Linked DNA regions of Homo sapiens: region 2 is linked to region 1. Evidence: promoter capture Hi-C in 16 types of primary human blood cells and fetal thymus (Javierre and others, 2016). All regions are on one chromosome and are shown on one strand. The core of a region is centred on a gene start or on the middle of the fragment in contact, and the rest is flanking DNA. Distances in the headings are between cores, read along the strand shown. Region 1 holds the start of RERE (arginine-glutamic acid dipeptide repeats). Region 2 overlaps ERRFI1 (ERBB receptor feedback inhibitor 1).

Region 1 (7,278 bases), core at 2,809-5,308:
TTTTTTTAATTATAAGAATTATCCATGCTTGATATGAAAAGAAAAAAGTCCTTGTCTCTAAAAAAAATTAAAATAAATGATTAAAAAAGTGAAACCACTAAACCACAATTTCTTAGGTTGAGTTTACTGGTGTTTATTTTATTATTATCCCCCTCAACCTATGTACACATAATGTATATTCTTTTGTCTATGCCAAATTTTTATGATTTTAAAAAATGAAATCAAAAGTATTAGAAGAACACTAAAACTTTTTCAAATCATGGATTGAAGAAGCTCTTTCTAACATGGCAGGAAATCCAGACGCCATAAAGGAAAAAACACCAATAAATTTTACTGCATAAATATTTCACATCCCTATAAGGCATAAAAACACCATAGCAATGCAAGAAACAGGCAGACTGGGGAGAAACATTTTCAACACGTATAAGCAAGGGCTAACTTCCTTTTTTTTTTTCCTTTGAGACAGGGTCTCACTCTTGTCACCAGGTTGGAATGCAGTGGCATGATCACAGCTCACTGCAGCCTCAACCTCCCAGGCTGAAGCCATCCTCCCACCTCAGCTTCCCAAATAGCCTGGACTACAGGCATGTGCCATCACACTCAGCTAATTTTTAAAATTTTTTTGTAGAGATGGGGGTCTCATTATGTTGCTCAGAGTAGTCTCAAATTCCTGGGCTCCAAAAAAAAAAAATTTCAATTAAAAAAATAAAGAAATCCACCTGTGATTTTGGGGGTGGGGTGTGTTAGGAGTAATATGAATCTAGTGGGTGTGTGTTGTTGTTTTTTGTTTCCCCATATAGCTATCTTGTTGTCCCAATATCATTTATTAAATAATCCCCATTTTCCATCTTCCTTTAATACAGCTCTGATGTGATCTCTGTATATTTAAAAAAAAATCACTTCTTACCTGTAGTAAGATACATAAAATAACTAAAAAAAGTCCTTGATATTTTCAGATTCAATAACTACTTTATTTACTTAATTCCCACTTAAAAATATTGCTGAAAAGAGAATAAGGAAACTTTTAAAAATTTAATATGGGAAAAAAATCCAAGTCGGTATTTTACGTCTTTAATCTTCAGCTAGTTCTTTAACTTCCGTAAGCCCCAGTTCCTTGACTTTTAAAATGGAGATAATAAGCCGGGAGCAGTGGCTCACGCCTGTAATCCCAGCATTTTGGGAGGCTGAGGCGGGCGGATCATCTGAGGTTGGGAGTTCGAGACCAGCCTGACCAACATGGAAAAACCCTGTCTCTACTAAAAATACAAAATTAGCTGGGCATGGTGGCACATGCCTGTAATCCCAGCTGCTCAGGAGGCTGAGGCAGGAAAATCGCTTAAACCCGGGGGTCAGAGGTTGCGGTGATCTGAGATCGCGCCATTGCACTCCAGCCTGGGCAACAAGATCGAAACTGTCTCAAAAAAAAAAAAAAAAAAAAAAAGAGATAATAATAATACACTTCATGGGGAGAAAAAGTGGGCTAAAGAATGTAACATGTTTCTTAGGGCACTGGGAACATAAGCTTTCAATCAATAGTTTAATAGTTGTTCTTAACGATGAAGATTATTTTACTGCATTATCAGCTTCTCAGATCCTTGGAAGGAGGTCCAGTACTCTCCGGCTTTATGGCTGGACCACAATTCTTTCGTGGGACTGTTACAGTTAAATGGGTTTAGTTTGCTAATTTTGTGGTCTGATACCATATATTATGCTTTGTAACTATGTGGCATTTCTGGACTTCTAAATTTACATTTTTATGGATAAATGAAAGTGACGGCCAATCCCTAATACCATAGTAAATGTTATTTCCTAACGTGGAGAGCCTCTCTCCTCCCTGCTGGATGGCAGTGCATTGTCCATTTGTCTACCACAGAGCTGAATCTTTATTAGAAATAATGCTCCTGTAAGTTTCGAGACCAGCCTGGGCAACATAGTGAACCTCCATCTCTACTAAAATTACAAAAGTTAGTTGGGTGTGGCGGCACACACCTGTAATTTCAGCTACTCAGGAGGCTGAGGCAGGAGAATCGCTTCAACCGAGGAGGTGGAGGTTGCAGTGAGCTGAGATCGTGCCACTGCACTCCAGCCTGGGCAACAGAGCGAGACTCTGTCTCAAAAAAAAAAAAAAGAAAAAAAAGAAAGAATGCTCCTGTAGATAGAGATTTTGATGGAAAGTGAAGCCATCTAACTGATATACTTTATCCCTCATCATTTCCAAACAGGAAGTCAGATAGTCCTATCCATATCTAGAATGTTGGAAGCAGTTTATTGAATTTATTAGGTTTTAAAATTCAGTTCTCACATTATCAGATATATAAAGAGATATTAACTAGTTTCCCCATTTCATAACTCCAGCAAAGAGGATTTTTCTTGCTGAAAGTTACTCAGAAATGTGATGGCAAGGATCTATGGCTTTTTTTTTTTTTTTTAAGATCTCTTGGGTCATGGTCCAATAGTATCTGTTAGTCCAAATTATTCTTTAAAGAATAATTGAATGTGGGCCGGGTGCGGTGGCTCACGCCTGTAATTCCAGCACTTTGGGAGGCTGAGGCGGGCGGATCACCTGAGGTCAGGAGTTCGAGACCAGCCTGACCAACATGGAGAAACCCCATCTCTACTAAAAATACAAAATTAGCTGGGTGTGGTGGCGCATGCCTGTAATCTCAGCTACTCGGGAAGCTGAGGCAGGAGAATCGCTTGAACTGAGGAGGCGGAGGTGGCGGTGAGCCGAGATCGCGCCATTGCACTCCAGCCTGGGCAACAAGAGTGAAACTCCCTCTCAGAAAAAAAAAAAAAATGAATAATTCAATGTGGAAATTATAATCTGAATAGATTTTCCAAGGAGAAAATTATCACTTCTTTTGAAACAGATGAGTGAATTATTTTGTGCTACGTTTTCTACCCCTTATTTTATACGGACCTTAACTCCTTCGGGAAGAGTGTATGGTATAAGGACACCAATAAGCATTTACAGAATATTAACAAACCAACAATAGGTTGATGATTCACCCTGGATTCGTGCCAGGCTCTGTGAAAGAACTCAATAAACATGATGTGCATTTCAAAAACTGCTAATCATAATTGAAATTTCCAAACCCCTCAATCCCATAAATTATATGAACTAGAATATGATCATTTGGCCTGCCCCTACTCCCTTTACAGCATGATAGACCCTGTGATTATCAGGCTTTCGGGAAGTGGGACACAATACTTCATTCTTCAAAGAAAAAGAGGTGATGTTTGGTCTTTTCCTCTTTTTAGATTTTTTTTCACACGTACCTTATAGAGTTGTACACTGCTCTTTCTAAAATCCCTTCTGTACCTGTACAGTCTCTCCTTTATGCCTTCATGACACTTTTTATTCTTTTCAAATAAGCAGTGCGACTTATCACTTTTATTTTTCTTTCTGTAATTCATCTTTTGTCATGTACACTATTTGAAAAATATTACAAGCCGCTCATCAGAATTTCGAAAGAGTCCATATGAGAATGGTTTACACCCACTCTGTAGCCCGCAGCAACATGGATCCGCGTCCTAATGACTGAAAAGGCCAATTAAGACCCGGGTAACAGCAAGATCAACCGGACTTCCCCCCACCCCACCCGGGACCTGCCCGCGCCGCCAGCCCGGCCCAGCCCGGGGGGCGCGGGGGGCGGTACTGGAGCGCGGCGGGCGGCGGAGGAGGGCCGGCCTCGCACTCTCACAAAGACGCGCCCGCGGCGGGAGCCCAGCCCACCGCCTCTGGCCGCCGCCTGCAGCGCGAGCCCTCGAGCCCCGGGCCGCGGCGTTGTCAAGGCTCGGCCTCTCTCCGCCTTCTTCTCTGCTCATTTTATTAAAAAGATTAAAAAAAAAAAAAAAAAAAAAAAAAAAAGGAAAAAGAGATCCCGCCTCCTCCGCCTCCCATTGGCCGGGCCCCCGGCCGCGTCACACCGCGCTGTACCAATGGAGGGGCGCGATACTGCGAGGTGGGCCGGGCCCGAGCGGGGAGTGGGCGGCGGGTCGGTGCAGCAGCTCCGCCGCGGCTCCGCCACCATCGCGGAGGTGCCGCTGTTCCCACAGACGCTCGCGAGCAACCCTCCGCGCTCCGGAGCCTCCTCAGCCTCCCGCACACCCCGAGACGCTCGCCCCGCTGGGCCTCGGTCCCCGCCTCCTCCCCCGTCCTTTTCCCCTCTCTCGCTCCCCACATTGTCTCTGCCTCATTTTCTCTCCTAGTTGAGGATTAAAAAAAAAAAAAAATCACCATCATCCTCAGGGAGCCCCCTCGCCCTCGGAAAACAAAACCAGACATGATCCTGGGCTCCTGCTTCTGAAAGATCTGCCCGACCGAGGAGGAGGGAGCCTAGGTTCAAGTCGCAGGAAAGGTCACGGCAGGGAAGCCCCCTCAGCCCCTCCGCGTCGCCTCCCCGCGGGCCGCCCCTCTCGGCCCTGCGCCCCGCGGCCCCGCAGCCTCCGCGCGGCCTCCCGCCCCATCCCCGCCACTTTCCCCGGAGCTGGGCCGCGAACACCTCACTATTGATGGTGTAGCGCTTTAGGGGAAGGTAAGTGTCCAACTTGCCCGCGCCGGGTCGTGTGCTTTCTTTTTTGGCCCCTCGTCCTGGTGGTCAGAGAGGGTCGGCCGTGAAAGCAGTCACTCGCCCGGGGGGAGGCAGGAAGAAAAGGCTGGGGTCGAAGCCGAAGTCGAGGGGAGTCGGGCGAGGGCAGGGCACTTCTTTGGTCCTGTCCGGGCCAGGTGACCGTTCCTGCGTGCCTTCTGACCCCTGCTCTCTCTTGGCCTCTTATTCATGCTCTTGTTCTACTTGTTTGAGGTTAAACTATTTCATGTGACTACATTATTGGCTGAAACTGGAAGGGAAGGAAGTCAAGGACTGAAACTGTAAATTTCTTGAATGTTTGTGGATTTCGGGGTGCTGGGGGGAGGACTTTATTATTAAAGTATCATTTTCTCATTGGGGGAAGATTTCCTCTTTGTGCTCCCAATCTCTAGTTCTCAGCTGTATGTGATTAGAAAATTATGAAACCCAAAGTCACTTGCAGCAGAATAGAATTCTTACTATCCTGTTTTAGTTCTGCTCTCTGAAGGAGGGTGGCTTCTATTTATTACTAATTTTTAAGATGATGGAAAGATTCGTAGTTTTACATACACGTGTGTATGTGTGTCTGCTAGGAGGGGGGAAAAGTGTTGCAGGCTTCCTTTGAAACTGGTTGCTTGAGAAGTTGTTGAAAGGAAAACAGAATGATTCATTGTTGAATTGTCATTTTCCTCTGTCTCTTTTCCAAGGTTTGCTTACAATTTTTCTGGATTACAGACTTCAAACATTGATTTAAGTAAAATGGGTCCTTGAGAAACTGGGTGCTTTAAATGTTTCAGTATCTGTTGCTTTTTTAAGGTACATTTAGAAAGTAGTTTTGTATGAATCGTGAAATAGCCTTCTTCACAGCGAATTTTTAAACGCAAAAAAAGATAACTAGTAAGAGGGTGAACTTGGTGAATTACAAAATAGACATTTTAATATAGCAGGAATTGATGCATCTAAGATTTGAAACAGTTTTCATAATTGCTTTCCATTTAAAGAGAGACCTTTTTGTCTAGTGTACACTGGTCTTTTTAGTCTCAGTCTGTTGGGGGAGGGGAGAGAAGCTGGATCTGTACAATAATAAAATCATCTTTGGGTTGATATTTTGTTCCATGGATTTGCTTGCTGAGTTAATACTACTGTAAATTATCAACCAGTTTTGATTTTGATGGCCTGGGATGGGTGGAAAGCTGGCTTCCAGCTCTCCCTGTTGTTGTTGAGGTCGAAGGGAAAAGAGGCAGAGGCAGACAGACACACATATACACACACACACACACACATACACACACACACAATACCAAGCTGAGGGCTCATTGTTCTTCCATACACACATTCATTCTCTCTCTCCCATATTTGGGACTAGGTTTGCACAGACAAACACAGCTCTTTTTGGGAGAGAAGAGAGAAGATGGGGGAAGGGAGGGTGCTTTTCTGTTACAGCTTTCTTCCACCCATCTCATGCCTGGCCGTTTTTGCAACCTTGTGAGGCAGAAGAGTGCATTGGAAACTAAAGGACACTCAAAAACATGTTCAGAGACTTCTCTTCTCTCTGCCTCCCTTTATTCCTTTTGCAGCCGTGGTTTCTGCTGCTCTTTCTTTTTTGTATATGTAAAGATAAAATCCCTCTTTATATGTTGTGGCCTTACGTTCAGCTCTCATTGCTTTTGTATTTCTCATTGACCCTGATTTTGTTGGGGACAGTGATTTGTTCACTTGAGTCTTAGTAGTGAATGTGAGCAGAGTCTTTCTAGATAGAAATAGATTTTATTGATTAATATTATAAAGGTTGTATTGAGGTTAATATTTAGCAAGATGATGTTTGCATGTTTTTAGTGGTGTGATGGTTTGATGGTCAGGTTTGCTGGCAATTGAGCTGTCAATGTTGTTTTTGTAAATAAGGGTTATAAGAAAAGATCTGGTTTTCTGTTTAGGGGGCTCCTTTGAATACTGGACAGGGAATAGGCTAGTCCACCTGGGATAAACCCAGCTGTGGCCCAAGGATGGAGGTTGGTGTGAATACATGTGGGTTGCAGAATAGCACCTTCTACTGGTTAATTGTTTGGAAAGATCCAGACGAAGAGGATGGGGGAGGGGATTAATGGCTGAGGCTTAATGATTTTCTTTTAAGCGCAGTTGTTGTGCCTTTCTGCAAATGCCACTTCCCCGAGCTGCTAATACAGATGTCCTTTGACAGGCACGGTTGCATTGAGGCATTATTATGTTACTGGTTGTGCTTCGACATTAATTTGTTCTGTTACCAGAAGTATTTACACTTTGTGACTTCCCAGGACTCCTTTGAATGATACCTTCTCATCTTTTATGAGATAATTTCTCTTGAAATATTAAACCAGAGGGTTTATTTCTGTTCCCAGTATTGGAAACTATATACACCAGCAGTCTTTTAAAAAAGTTTTTAGTATCATTAATAAAAAATCAAATAAACCTACTCTATGGAAAGTAAAATTGTAGCACTGGACAGAGGTTTTTCTTGGGATTTAAACCAGGTAGAGGGGTAGAGGAGGAGTTGAAGGAGGGAAATCTCACTAAAATCGGCAATTTTGCAAATGTAGTGGCCTTGCATTGCAGTAGTGTTGTTTTCAGTAGTCTTATAAAGTCTGATAGGGTGACTTATTGTATGGATTAGATAAAGAATTTAAAATTGGAAGCCAGAGAAAATGTGAAATGAGTGTGTACACAAATTATC
Region 2 (7,278 bases), core at 2,193-4,692, 810 kb after region 1:
GGTTAAAAATCATACCAAGGCCTCATACTTCCAGGTTTCATGTTGCGTCTTGTTGAGGGAGGGAGAGCAGGTTACTTGGCAACCATATTGTCACCTGTACCTGTCACACATCTTGAAAAATAAAACGATAATAGAACTAGTGACTAATTTTCCCTTACAGTTCCTGCTTGGTCCCACCCACTGAAGTAGCTCATCGTAGTGCGGGCCGTATTAGAGGCAGTGGGGTACGTTAGACTCAGATGGAAAAGTATTCTAGGTGCCAGTGTTAGGATGTCAGTTTTACAAAATAATGAAGCAATTAGCTATGTGATTGAGAGTTATTGTTTGGGGATGTGTGTTGTGGTTTTGCTTTTTTTTTTTAGACTGTATTAATAAACATACAACACAAGCTGGCCTTGTGTTGCTGGTTCCTATTCAGTATTTCCTGGGGATTGTTTGCTTTTTAAGTAAAACACTTCTGACCCATAGCTCAGTATGTCTGAATTCCAGAGGTCACATCAGCATCTTTCTGCTTTGAAAACTCTCACAGCTGTGGCTGCTTCACTTAGATGCAGTGAGACACATAGTTGGTGTTCCGATTTTCACATCCTTCCATGTATTTATCTTGAAGAGATAAGCACAGAAGAGAAGGTGCTCACTAACAGAGGTACATTACTGCAATGTTCTCTTAACAGTTAAACAAGCTGTTTACAGTTTAAACTGCTGAATATTATTTGAGCTATTTAAAGCTTATTATATTTTAGTATGAACTAAATGAAGGTTAAAACATGCTTAAGAAAAATGCACTGATTTCTGCATTATGTGTACAGTATTGGACAAAGGATTTTATTCATTTTGTTGCATTATTTTGAATATTGTCTTTTCATTTTAATAAAGTTATAATACTTATTTATGATACCATTAGTAATGTTTCTTGCCTAAAGTCTTATAAAGTGTATGAAGCAATTTGACAGCATTATTTTTAAGCACAAGCGAAGATTCTTTGAAGTTTAATGTATTCTTGAAACTCTTATTCTTTAGAATGAAACATAATTTGTGCAATCTTTTTCACATATTATGAAAGTATACAGTGGAAATGAGCTGTTTGTTTTTACCTTTAACAACTGAAAGAGAACTGGATTCTGGGGTTACTATCAGAAACAACGTTGGGGGTGGGAGTCCACATCAAGGAGAACGTGACAGAAGAAACCAGTTCTGATGTGTAGACTTGGTTTGACTCATTCTGATTTTTAGGACGAGGTCCCGGTTACTCTGGGCCCTTTGGCAGGCTTTGCTTCTTGCTTAAGGCCACCCAAGGAATCTGCACCTGCCTTGGCCTGTCATGGAGATGGCAAGTCCACAGTGGACAAATGGGCTCCTGGCAGCCTTTGGATGGAGGCAGGGGCTGGAGTGCTCTTTGTGAGGGGGCTTAGTCCCATGTCACCTAGCCCTGTGCCTGGTTCTCTTCACTGTCCTCTGCAGGCTCCTTTGTCCCCTGGGAGAGGGTGGGAGCCCTCCACGACCTTCATCGGGCACCTGCACTGTCTTGCCACTCTCCAGAGTGAAGAGTGAGGGCTCAAATTATCTGGGTTGAAGTTGCAACTTCATCCCTTTCTAATTCTGTGTGAGGCAGATTATTTTAAATCCCTGTAGCTCAGTTTTCTCATTGGTAAAATGGGCAGAGAGGTGGGAATTATTTTGTGACAACTGCATATAAACTATATTATCTGGTACATAGTGAGGGCCCCATACATGAGAACTGTTTTTGTCATCTAAAGGCTGGGTGTCATTTATGGCATTTTACAGATGAAGATGCAGGCTTGGGACGTTCAGTCAACAGACATTTGTTAAATCCCAGCCCCATGCTGGATCCTGCGAAAACACATCCCCTTCCCTTATGGAATTTAAAGCAGATAATGTTAATTATGATTACATCTTATATTAAGTGCTAAATAAAAAGGTAATGAACAATGGGAGCAATGAGGACTGATAATGGGACCTGTGAGGTGTTAAGCTCTGAAGGGTTAGAATGGAAGCTGAGGGAGGGGAGTGAACAGGTAGGCATGTTACCAGTGGAGGAAGCAGACAATGTGTGAGACCCTGAAGTAGGAAACAGCTGAGCAGCTTCCAGAAAGTGGCTGTCAGGAGGAGGAGGGGCCTGGAAAAGTGTAGTGGGTGCCACTGAAAGATCCTAAGCAGGAGAGGAAGGTGATGTGATTTAAGAGGACAGTGGCTGTTGTGTGGAGGACAGATCGGAGAGAAGCAAAAGGAAACGGGAAGACTTAATGGACAGAGGCTACTGTAGTCCTGAACTGAGACAAGACTGCCTTGGCCAGTGGAGATGGAGAAAAACAGTAAAAGATACCTGGGAGTAGTAGAAACAGTTAAGTTCCAGATCACGCAGGCCCGTGTGCGCGGCACCCTGGCCAAAGAGGGACAGCTCCCCAAGCGCAGGGACTCAGCTTCCTGTGCACTGTCATGACGCACTGCCTGACCCAGGGGTGCAGTAAGTCCCTGCTGACTGGATGTCTGAATGCAGCACTTGCAGAACTTTGTCTGCTTCTGAGACTTTTTGCCTCTCCCCTCCCCTCCACTACCTTTTCTTGGTCATATGGTCAAGAATATGTTTCATTAGTTCTGTTTGCTTTCCATCTTACCTTTGTATTTTTACTTGTGTTTGCAAGCATATACCTTTTCCCTGATTTTTCCTGGCTAAGCAAATGTGCCTAGCCGCCATGCCAATGCCACACTACCACCGGAACACATCCCCTAGCACCTTCTGCCTGTCAACTTATTCCTCAACCAGCACACAAAGCAAGTTAATTCTAAAGAGTTCTCGTGGCATAGGTCAAGCCCGGGACTTCTGACACTCTTCTCTGTTGCTAAGTAAGATGCCAATAGGAAATCAGCTGCGTGTTAGCTGCCACTTTATGCACTGTTGAGTTCTCAAAGATGGTTATGTCACACAACAAAGTACTGGCCTAAAACCCAGGTTCCTGTCTTGACTTCTCCCTTTTTTTTTTTAGACACAGAGTCTTCTTGCTCTTGTCACCCCAGGCTCCAGGCTAGAGTGCAGTAGCACCAATCTTGGCTCACCGCAACCTCCGTCTCCCGGGTTCAAGCGATTCTCCCTGCCTCAGCCTCTCAAGTAGCTGGGATTATAGGCAGGCGCCACCACGCCTGGCTAATTTTGCATTTTTTTAGTAGAGATAGGGTTTCTCCATGTTGGTCAGGCTGGTCTTGAACTCCCAATCTCAGGTGATCCGCCTGCCTCGGCCTCCCAAGGTGCTGGGATTACAGGTGTGAGCCACCACGCCTGGCTGACCTCCCACTTTCTATAGGAAGGATTCACTTCACTTCCCTGAGCTTTAAGTTCCTTGTCAGTATATGTGAGGCCATGCCAGAGCGCACTGTAGTGCTATGCACACCTAAGGGACTGGTTAGTAGATACCATTTCGTGGCAGCAAACAGAAGCCGAGGATAAGGGGGCTCTCTTACAAGTGAATTCAAAATTTGGGTTAATAGTAAATGTCAGTTTTTTGTTTTTTTGTTTTGAGGCAAAGTCTTCGTCACCCAGGCTGGAGTGCAGTGGCACCATCTGGGCTCACTGCAACCTCTGCCTCCAGGGTTCTAGCGATTCTCCTGCCTCAGCCTTCCGATCAACTGGGATTACAGGCACCTGCCACCACGCCCGGCTAATTTTTGTATTTTTAGTACAGACGGGGTTTCACCATGTTGGCCAGGCTGGTCTCGAACTCCTAACCTTAGGTGATCCACCCACCTCAGCCTCCCAGAGTGCTGGGATTATAGGCGTGGGCCACTGCGCCCAGCCAATTTTGTCAGTTCTTATGCTGCAACAGTCAAGTATGTGATGTGTATCCTCTTGTTTTTAATAAATTCCAAAAACACACTAATGGAAGTTTAATACTGTTTGTTGCTTATCCATCTCTAGGTCTCAAGAGATGTCTTAACTATGCTGTGAAAAGTAAGAACTCTCTTTAAGAGGATGTTTCTTGGCTGGGTGCGGTGGCTCACGCCTGTAATCCCAGCACTTTGGTAGGCCAGGGCGGGTGGATCACCTAAGGTCAGGAGTTCAAGACCAGCCTGACCAACATGGTGAAACCCCATCTCTACTAAATACAAAAAAATTAGCTGGGCGTGGTGGCTCATGCCTGTAATCCCAGCCACTTGGGAGGCTGAGGCAGGAGAATCACTAAAACCCGGGAGGCGGAGATTTGCAGTGAGCTGAGATTAAGCCACTGCACTCCAGCCTGGACAACAACAGTGAAACTCCGTCTCAAAAAAAAAGAGGATGCTTCTTCACTATTAGGGACCCTAAAAAATAAAATAAAAGGCCATAGAGTTTCATCTTCCAGAGCAATTCACAGTTGACTAGAGAAAAGCCATATTCATATATCTACTGGTTCAAGAATCAACATGTATTTTAAGCTAGTCTCTATTTTGGTTCTTAATTTCATCACATAATTAATAGTTTTAGGATATACTGGAGCTTTTCTCTTAAAAATAAGTAAAGCTCCTAGCACAGTTTTGTATTTCTTATATAGTTTTTTTTTAACTTTTCATCTTGATGTAATTATACACTCAAAAGAAGTTGCAAAATAGATCCCCTATGCCCATTACCCAGATTCCCCCAGTGATGACATAGAATTTATCAAAATCAGGAAACTGACATTGGCACAATACTCATGTAGGATTTTATCTGGAAGTAGTTACTATCAAAATGAACTTAGGTGCTACTTTTTCAAATTAATTTAGAAATTAATTTTGGCCTTCTGGCATTTTGTAAAAAGCTAATAAAACTCTAAAAATATGTTGTCAGGCTGGGCATGGTGGCTCACGCCTGTAATCCCAGCACTTTGGGAGGCCGAGGCGGGCGGATCACCTGAGGTTGGGAGCTTGAGACCAGCCTGGCCAATGTGGAGAAACCCCATCTCTACTAAAAATACAAAATTAGCTGGGTGTGGTGGCACGAGCCTATTAATCCCAGCTACTTGGGAGGCTGAGGCAGGAGAATCACTTAGCCTGGGAGGCGGAGGTTGCGGTGAGCTGAGATCGCACCATTGCACTCCAGCCTGGGCAACAAGAGCAAAACTCTGTCTCAAAAAATAAAAAAATAAAAAAAAATATATATATATATATAGAGAGAGAGAGAGAGAGAGAGAGAGAGAGAGAGAGAGAGTCATGTAAATAATGCATTATGGCCATTGTCATTGAAAAGATAAAATTAAGGCATGTTAACTTTGATCTGCCATGGTTTCCTGCAAGGTTAATTTGCATTTGCTCTAATAAAAACAGTCCTTTACACTTTTAAGAATTCATGGCCGGGCACGGTGGCTCACGTCTGTAATCCCAGCACTTTGGGAGGCTGAGGCGGGCAGATCACGAGGTCAGGAGTTCGAGACCAGCCTGGCCAGCATAGTGAAACCCCCATCTCTACTAAAAATACAAAAATTAGCCAGGCATGGTGGCGTGTGCCTGTAGTCCCAGCTACTCGGGAGGCTGAGGAGGGAGAACTGCTTGAACCCAGGAGGTGGAGGTTGCACTGAGCCGAGATCACACCACTGCACTACAGCCTGGGCGACAGAGCCAGACTCTGTCTCAAAAAAAAAAAAAAAACACACACACAAAAAAACATGAATTGTTTTTCTCTTAAGGGCCTCAAATATCTACAGCCTTGAGGTTCCATATTTTCAAATTGGAAGTGCGTGACAAGCCAGGAGGCATAGTGTGAATTTCTAACTTAGTACTAGAGTTTCGAGGTATTCTTATCCTTAGGAAAATAAGTTTTGTTCAAACTAAAATACAGTCAAGGACTTGTTTTCTTTAGACTAGATCAATTGACAAACAACCTGGCCCTTTTCCTCTCGGCATGTGAATCATACAACTTGTTAAAGAGGAGTATTGGGTTTTATTCGGAGAAAGGAGGAGAGGAGAGTAGAATTGGGTAGAAGGTTCAATTTGTCTGAACTTGGTTGGCCTCACCCTTCACTGCTTGTTAACTACATGAAATCATGATTTAGCCATGTCTAATGTAATTTGATTGCTGGGAGGATGCAAATTTTCATGTTTGCTTTTCACCTGAATGTATCAAATTTCACTATGCTTTAACCTCAGCCACTAAGAAGCTATTACTAGAGCGTGTTTAAACAAGCTTACTTCTGCCGTCATGTTATCTGTCCAGAATTCAGAGTGGCAAACCATACTTGGTGTGTATGTTTTTCTGCACCTGAGGAAATCATTTACATTAAGGCAGCTCTGTGATAGTCAGTGTTCCTCAGCGTCCCCGCCACATGGCAGCAGGTGGGGTTTTGGTGTGGGGAGGGGGCTCGGGAATGGAAAGAAAGGACTCCTTTCCAGGTACTAGTTTGCACTTGTCTTAGAGAGAGAGCTGTGGGGGCTGGGCATGGTGGCTCATGCCTGTAATCCCTGCACTTTGGGAAGCCAAGGTGGGCAGATTACTTGAGGTTAGGAGTTCGAGACCAGCCTGACCAACATGGTGAAATCCCGTCTACTAAAAATACAAAAATTAGCCGAGCATGGTAGTGCATGCCTGTAATCCCAGCTACTCAGGAGGCTGAGGCAGGAGAATGGCTTGAACCTGGGAGGCGAAGTTTGCAGTGAGCGGAGATCGCACTACTGCATTCTAGCCTGGGCAGCAGAGCAAGACTCCGTCTCAAAAAAAAAAGAAAAAGAAAAAGAAGGCCAGGCACGGTGGCTTACGCCTGTAATCCCAGCACTTTGGGAGGCTGAGGCGGGTGGATCTTGAGACCAGCCTGGCCAAGATGGTGAAACCCCGTCTCTACTAAAAATACAAAAATCAGCCGGGCGCAGTGGTGGGCGCCTGTAATCCCACCTACTCGGAGGCTGAGGCAGTTGAACTCGTGAGGCGGAGTTCGCAGTGAACCAAGATCGCGCCACTGCACTCTAGCCTGGGCCACAGAACAAGACTCCATCTCAAAAAAAAAAAAAGAAAAGGAAGGAAGGGAGGAAGGAAAGGAAGGAAGGAAGCTGTGATCTCAGGCTATCAGTTTAGCGTGCCTCTCTTTGGCCCATCACCTCTCACCCTGGGAATCCTGAAACCTACCAGGAACCGCAAGCAAGTAAACCTGTAGCAAGCTCCCTAAAACAGCATCCAGGAAAACACTTATATTTGTTCTTTTTTTCCCCGCTAAAAACGCTGTCTCACTGAGGGACCAGTCCTGAGGAATGTACATGTTATCAGTTAACTTGACATTTTGCTCTGTTGTAGAAAGGCAACGCCTTCATTCCTTGGACATA

What was found. Contacts are between HindIII fragments. The CHiCAGO score rates a contact against its expected background, and 5 or more counts as called.
Region 2: a contact is called between a fragment that was not itself captured here and the fragment with the promoter of RERE in region 1, in 1 of 17 cell types (naive B cells). The highest score is 6.7, in naive B cells.

What each region holds. Positions count from the first base shown.
Region 1 is chr1:8,814,420-8,821,697 of GRCh38, reverse strand. RERE (arginine-glutamic acid dipeptide repeats) reads left to right here and starts at 4,058. Exons shown (of 23, transcript NM_001042681.2): 1 at 4,058-4,538. RefSeq lists silencers at 3,521-3,750, 3,851-4,150, 4,401-4,460 and an enhancer at 3,814-4,108. The HindIII fragment of the contact is 6,239 bases long and covers 1,525-7,278 here.
Region 2 is chr1:8,005,344-8,012,621 of GRCh38, reverse strand. ERRFI1 (ERBB receptor feedback inhibitor 1) reads left to right here. Exons shown (of 4, transcript NM_018948.4): 4 at 1-895. LOC124903834 (a long non-coding RNA gene) reads right to left here. Exons shown (of 2, transcript XR_007065451.1): 2 at 5,889-7,278. Among named protein-coding and RNA genes, the nearest start is that of ERRFI1, 17 kb to the left of the region's middle. RefSeq lists a silencer at 2,699-2,993. The HindIII fragment of the contact is 5,423 bases long and covers 731-6,153 here.